2 separate regions of the Homo sapiens genome follow, and region 2 is linked to region 1. The links are contacts of gene promoters, found by promoter capture Hi-C in blood cells and fetal thymus (Javierre and others, 2016). All regions are on one chromosome and are shown on one strand. Each heading gives the region's core, a stretch centred on a gene start or on the middle of the fragment in contact. The rest is flanking DNA. Distances are from core to core; before and after follow the strand shown. Region 1 holds the start of CRTAM (cytotoxic and regulatory T cell molecule). Region 2 overlaps CLMP (CXADR like cell adhesion molecule).

What was found. Contacts are between HindIII fragments. The CHiCAGO score rates a contact against its expected background, and 5 or more counts as called.
Region 2: a contact is called between a fragment that was not itself captured here and the fragment with the promoter of CRTAM in region 1, in 1 of 17 cell types (naive CD8 T cells). The highest score is 5.0, in naive CD8 T cells.

Annotation. Positions count from the first base shown.
Region 1 is chr11:122,836,794-122,839,757 of GRCh38, reverse strand. It overlaps CRTAM (cytotoxic and regulatory T cell molecule), which reads right to left and starts at 1,258. Exons shown (of 10, transcript NM_019604.4): 1 at 1,166-1,258. The coding sequence starts at 1,211. The HindIII fragment of the contact is 4,925 bases long and covers 901-2,964 here.
Region 2 is chr11:123,108,242-123,111,624 of GRCh38, reverse strand. All of the region lies in intron 1 of CLMP (CXADR like cell adhesion molecule), which reads left to right. Among named protein-coding and RNA genes, the nearest start is that of HSPA8, 48 kb to the right of the region's middle. The HindIII fragment of the contact is 3,337 bases long and covers 1-3,276 here.

The sequences.
Region 1 (2,964 bases), core at 9-2,508:
TACAGTTTCAATATTTGGTAACAAACACACAAAAAGCAAAATTTTTGAGTGGATTTGTGAGGGATGTCCTTTGCATGAATCTGATACAATTGTAAGCAGAGACTGAGGGACAACAGGAGCCACTTCCTACACCCCTGCCCCCACTTTTGGGTAGAAAATAATTTGACCTGCTCCAAAAAGGTAACTGCTTCTATCCTTAATTTTCATAATGCTACATTAGGATTAAGCACTAAAATCCAAATTTGAAAATTATAGTAAAATGTAAAGTATAACTTACTCTTTAAAAATAAACACGAAGTTTTCATTGGTCTCATTATTACCTCTGAGCTAAATAAGTGTTGCACAGCGCTTTATCATTTTCAAAGTGCTTTCACATTTGAAATTTGATCCTTCTAACAATCCAGGGAGTTTGGTGGATCAAAAGTTTTTATCATTTTCATTTTAAGATGCAGAAACTGAGTTTCAAAGAGATTAAATCGTTTGGCTAAGATTTATACAGCAAGGAAATTTTAAAATTCAACGTGGAGGCCGGGCGCGGTGGCTTACGCCTGTAATCCCAGCACTTTGGGAGGCTGAGGTGGGCAGATCACGAGGTCAGGAGATTGAGACCATCCTGGCTAACACGGTGAAACCCCGTCTCTACTAAAAATATAAAAAAATTAGCCGGGCGTGGTGGTGGCGGGCACCTGTAGTCCCAGCTACTTGGGAGGCTGAGGCAGGAGAAAGGCGTGAACCCGGGAGGCGGAGCTTGCAGTGAGCCGAGGTCGTGCCGCTGCACTCCAGCCTGGGCGACAGAGCGAGACTGTGTCTCATAAATAAATAAATAAATAAAATAAAATAAAATTCAATACGGATGCTCTTTCAACTGGTATGCCCTTAAAAGACAGAGCCTAATAAGCTTGTTTCATCTTGCCGTAACATAGGACCCACAGAGACACACACTATAATGATCCTTTCTATACTCCTTAGCCATTGAACGAGAGATCAAATAAACGCAGTAACATCCCTCAGATGCATGATTTGAGCATGGCTTGGAAAGTATTAGCAGTTACCTGGGTTGTCTTCTACAGCAGCTCCTCTGTAAATGCAGTTGACTGACTGATAGGTAGATGTGGCAAAACATTAAGTCAGCTGAGCAACAACAAAAATAACTCTAAGTCCTTACCTTGCAAGGGGAACCATGCCAGCAAGCTGAGAACTCTCCACCACATACTGTGCTGTGCTGCTGTGGCACCTTTGTCAACTTCCTCTAGATTCTGAGACAAATGGAGCTGAGTAGTTTCTTTTAAAGGGGGAGAGGCAGTAGATCTGTGACCTCATGTGTATCAACTCCTCCATCTGTCTGGAAGCCCCCTCTTAGTTAGCTGCCCCCAGAACACCTCCTGGTGGAACATTTTGGGGACCACATGTATTATCTTGATGGCAGAGAGGTGTGAGTGATGTGTTGGTGACAAAAATTGTTTTACCACAAGTGGGTAGTACTGGTAAATCAACTAGTTGCAAGGTTTTTAGAGGGAGCATGGGTGGGAGAAATACTGTAAAATGTCCCTGTGTAGTGACGTCATCCTTATTTTTACTTTTCTAGTTTATTAGATAAATACAATTAGATAATTTTTGCTCAACCTTTGGGAATATTTTATTTCTATGCTGACATCAATTTATAATTGTTGTCGGGGAGGAATTCATTCATTCATATAGATATACTCATTTTTGAAATCTATATATCTGTCCACCCACCCATCCACCCATCTTTTCATCCACCCACTCACAAATACAAATCTATTCATCCACCTATCCATCCATCCATCCTTCCATCCATCCACCCACACATCCATCCACCCATCCATTTATCCTTCCATCCACCCACTCACTCATGTATTACCTGCCCACTCATTCCCCATCCACCCATCCATCCATCTATTCATCCACACATCCATCCATCTCTCCATCCATCCAGCCAGCCAGCCATCCATCTATTTATCCATCCATCTATCCATCTATCCATCCATCCATCCATCCATCCATCCATCCATCCATCCATCCATCCATCCATTTATCCACCCATCCATCCATTCACCCATCCATCTATCCATCCATCCATCCGTCCATGACCTATTCATTCACCCACCCATCTATCTATACATGCAAATACTCATCCATCCACCCAACCACCCATCTATCTATCCACCCACGCATTCATCCATTCACCCACTCATTCATCCATTTACCCACCCATCTATCTATACATATGTCCGTCCGTCCATCCATCCATCCATCCATCCATCCATCCATCCTTCTATCCACCCATTCATCTTGTCACCTGTACAGCATCTAGTATGCACTACTTTGAGACATGCTCAAATAAAAAACATAAATTCCTTGTTTTTCAGGAGAATATAATCTAGTGGGGGAGACAATGTACATATGAACAGTTCTGGTATTTAATTTTCATTAATTGGACAAATTGAGATAGATTTAATGTAGTTTTTCCAGGAGCACACAGTAAAATATTAGTAAGTTTATGTTTAGAAAACAGAGATCAGTCTGCAATGCTTGGAAAATGAAAAGGAAACACTACTTACTGGCTCTAATTGAAATTAGTGTTAATACTCTGATAAATTTGATGAAGTTTGGGTAGGAAAAGTCTTACTCATCAAAAATGTCTTCCAAATATTTTGTTGGCTGGGCACAGTGGCTCATGCCTGTAATCTTAGCATTTTGGGAGGCTGAGGTGTGAGGATCATCTGAAGCCAGGAGTTCAAGACCAACCTGGGCAACATAGTGAGACCCCCATCTCTACAAAAAATACAAAAATTAGCTGAGCATGGTGGTGCATGCCTGTAGTCCCAGATACTTGGGAGGCTGAGGTGGAAGGGTTGCTTGAATGCAGGAGGTTGAGGCTGCGGTGAGCCGTGATCACACTACTGTACTGCAATCTGGGTGACAAAGTGACACCCTGTCTTA
Region 2 (3,383 bases), core at 359-2,858, 270 kb before region 1:
CTTAAAGGTGAGGCCTGGCTAATCCTCCCTAAGTAAATTCTGCCCCCTTGTGGATTAAAAGAGCAACAGAAAGGAAAGAAATGCTGTAGTTGGATGGGCCAGTTCTTTTCAGTTCTTTGAAAAAGCGCTTCAACAATCTTGAAAAGTCCCTTCAACAATCTTGAAAAGTCATGTTAATAATGGAACAAAACTATGGCCGGGCATGGTGGCTCACACCTGTAATCCCAGCACTTTGGGAGGCTGCGGTGGGCCGATCACCTGAGGTCAGGAGTTCCATGCCAGCCAGGCCAACACGGTGAAACTCCGTCTCTACTAAAAACACAAAAATGAGCTGGGTGTGGTGGTGTGCATCTGTAATCCCAGCTACTTGGAAGGCTGAGGCACTTGAACCCAGGAGGCAGAAGTTGCAGTGAGCCCAGATCGTGCCACTGCACTCCAGCTGAGGCACACACACACAAAAACCACACACACAATGGCACAAAACTAGACCTTTTGTATAAATTGTGTAAGCGCTCACTGATGGTGACAAAATACACCGACAGTATTTTACACTTGTATTTTATATTTCGCATCACATTCAACTAAGACAGGGCCTTGAATATACTGAGCACTCATAATTATTAGTAGTTCATAGAATATTATAGTTAGAAAAGACATTAAATATTGGGTTTAACATCCACATATAAGGACCCCTTTACAGCTACTCACACACTCTCATTTGAATGACTCCAGTAATGGAAAACTCACTAAACAGTAGAGCTCTTTCTCTTATCAGACAGCGCTGTTACAGAGTCAGTCAACATATTAAGCCCAAATGGCATAAGCCCTTTCCTTCCTTTCCCTCAACTTCTCCCTTTTCCCTCACTCCTTTTCCCCATCTTTCTCCTCCTCTAAAACTAACCCACAGACTGGGAAGGAAGTAGATGCTCAATATCCGGCCCCCCTTGACTGACGCCCGCAGCTCAGGTTGTCACCTTGGTCTTTGTACCAACACCATTTTTTTTTCTTTGAGAAGTTTCGGTCTGTTGCTCAGGCTGGAGTGCCGTGTTGTGATCTTGGCTCGCTACAGCCTGCACTTCCTGAGTTCCAGCAATTCTCCTGTCTAAGCCTCCCTAGTAGCTGGGATTACAAGCAGGAGTTACCACACCTGGCTAATTTTTTTTTTTTTTTTCTGACGGAGTCTCGCTCTGTCACCCAGGCTGGTGTGCAGTGACACAATCAGGGCTCATGGCAACTTCCACCTCTCGGGTTCAAGCGATTCTCCCATCTCAGCCTCCCAAGTAGCTGGAATTACAAGTGCCTGCCAACACGGCCGGCTAATTTTTGTGTTTTTAGTAGAGACGGGGTTTCACCATGTTGGGCAGGCTGGTCTCGAACTCCTGACCTTGTGATCTGCCCACCTCAGCCCCCCAAAGTGCTGGGATTACAGGCGTGAGCCATCGCATGGGCAACACCACTTATTTCAAGGACTCCAGGAAGAAATATCCCCTTTGGAGGGATGGAAGGAAATAACTAGGCACCATAATGATTCCGTAATTCTGACCAAAGGAACAAAATGCAGTAAACCTATTACTTGTTTTGTGGCCTTTTAAATGATGGAAGGTAGCTACAATGCTGCCCCTTGGTCTTCCATCTTCATAATTTGTTCACCTATAACTGCATTAGCTGTTCCTCATATATTTTTCTCACCCTATCATTTGCCGGTCATGACTCCCCGAATGCCCCTTTTTGTCAATGTCCTTCCCAGTTTTCAGCATCTAAAACTGAACACAGTTGCTCTGGATATGCTAGGTTGGCTAGTATAAAGTACAATGGAGATGTTACTCGGTGTTTGGAACATCGAACCTCTATAAATGCGGCCACATCATACTGGTGGTCAATAAATCTCTTGGTTCCCCATGTCCTCCAGGTCTTTCCCACCCTGGACTTGTGTCTCACTGAAACTTTAACATTTGCTTCCATTCAATTTCTTCTTGCTTTGGGTCAGAATCCCAGCCAGCAGGATAACTATGTACCTCAGGTGTGTCCAACCAGATTAGCTCTGCTACCTAGCTCTGTGCCATCCACATTTACAAACATGATCTCTGTGTTTCCAATCTGCCGGTTTCAAGGAAAAGACAATCATCTTCGGTGTGGGGAAGGAAAAATAATAAAAACTAGTGATGGAATATCGGCAGTGTGGCCTTAGCTGTGTGGTCATCCTCAGTCTTCTCTTCTCTAAAAGAGTTGATAACATTGGCTCTCACGGGCTCAGATCGATAACAAATGATAACATTTGAGTCACGGGTTCACATGAGATCATGCAGTTGAATCAGTTAATTGTTCATTGTTAAATTAATATCAGGTGTCAACGATCCTCTTTTGAAGGATTTGAAGGAGTAGGAGAGACTATCATCACCTTTGTATTCTTAACACCATCCTTGCCTGATAGGTGAAAAGCTCAGTGCAGTTTTTTAATGTGGATAAACACTTGCAAAGTTCCTACTGAGACAGTTTTTCACAGAGGGGAAGGGAGGCAACTCAACCATTTTTTTTCTTTCTTTCTTTTTTTTTTTTTTTTTTTTTGAGACAGAGTTTCACTCTTGTTGCCCAGGCTGGAGTACAATGGCGTGATCTTGGCTCACTGCAACCTCCGCCTCCTGGGTTTAAGCGATTCTCCTGCCTCAGCCTCCCAAGTAGCTGGGATTATAGGCATGCGCCATCACAACCTGCTAATTTTGTATTTTTAGTAGAGACAGGGTTTCTCCTTCTCCATGCTAGTCAGGCTGGTCTCGAACTCCCGACCTCAGGTGATCCGCCCGCCTCAGCCTCCCAAAGTGCTGGGATTACAGGCATGAGCCACCGCGCCCAGCCAAGTTGATCATTTTTAATCAGTTTGTGTTTAATCTGAAAACTTCTCCAACTATCTTCCATCAGTGTCAGGTTCTCCCTTTTCCTCATTCTCCTCCCTCCCACTCTCCTCCTTTTTCCTTCTCCCATCCCCCACTTCCCTTCCTCTTCCTTTCCTTTCCCTCACCTTCTCCCTTTTCCCTCATTCCCTTTCCCCATCCTTCTCCTCCCCTAAAACCAACCCACAGGCTGGGAAGGAGGTAGAAGCTCAATATCCGGCCCCCCTGACTGAAGCCCAAAGCTCAGGCTGTCACCTGGGTCCTTGTATCCACACCCCTAATATTAAGGACTCTAGGAACAAATATCCTCCTTGGAGGGGTGGGAGGAGATAACTAGGCACTGTATTGACTCCCAGATGTCTGAAATTCCACTGATAACTTGCAAGCTTCATTCCTTTGGCTTTAGGCTTTAAACTGTTTAAGTACCAAATATATGTTTGTATTTAAAAAGACAGTAAAATGTCAGGGATTTAGCAGCTCATAGTAAATATGGTC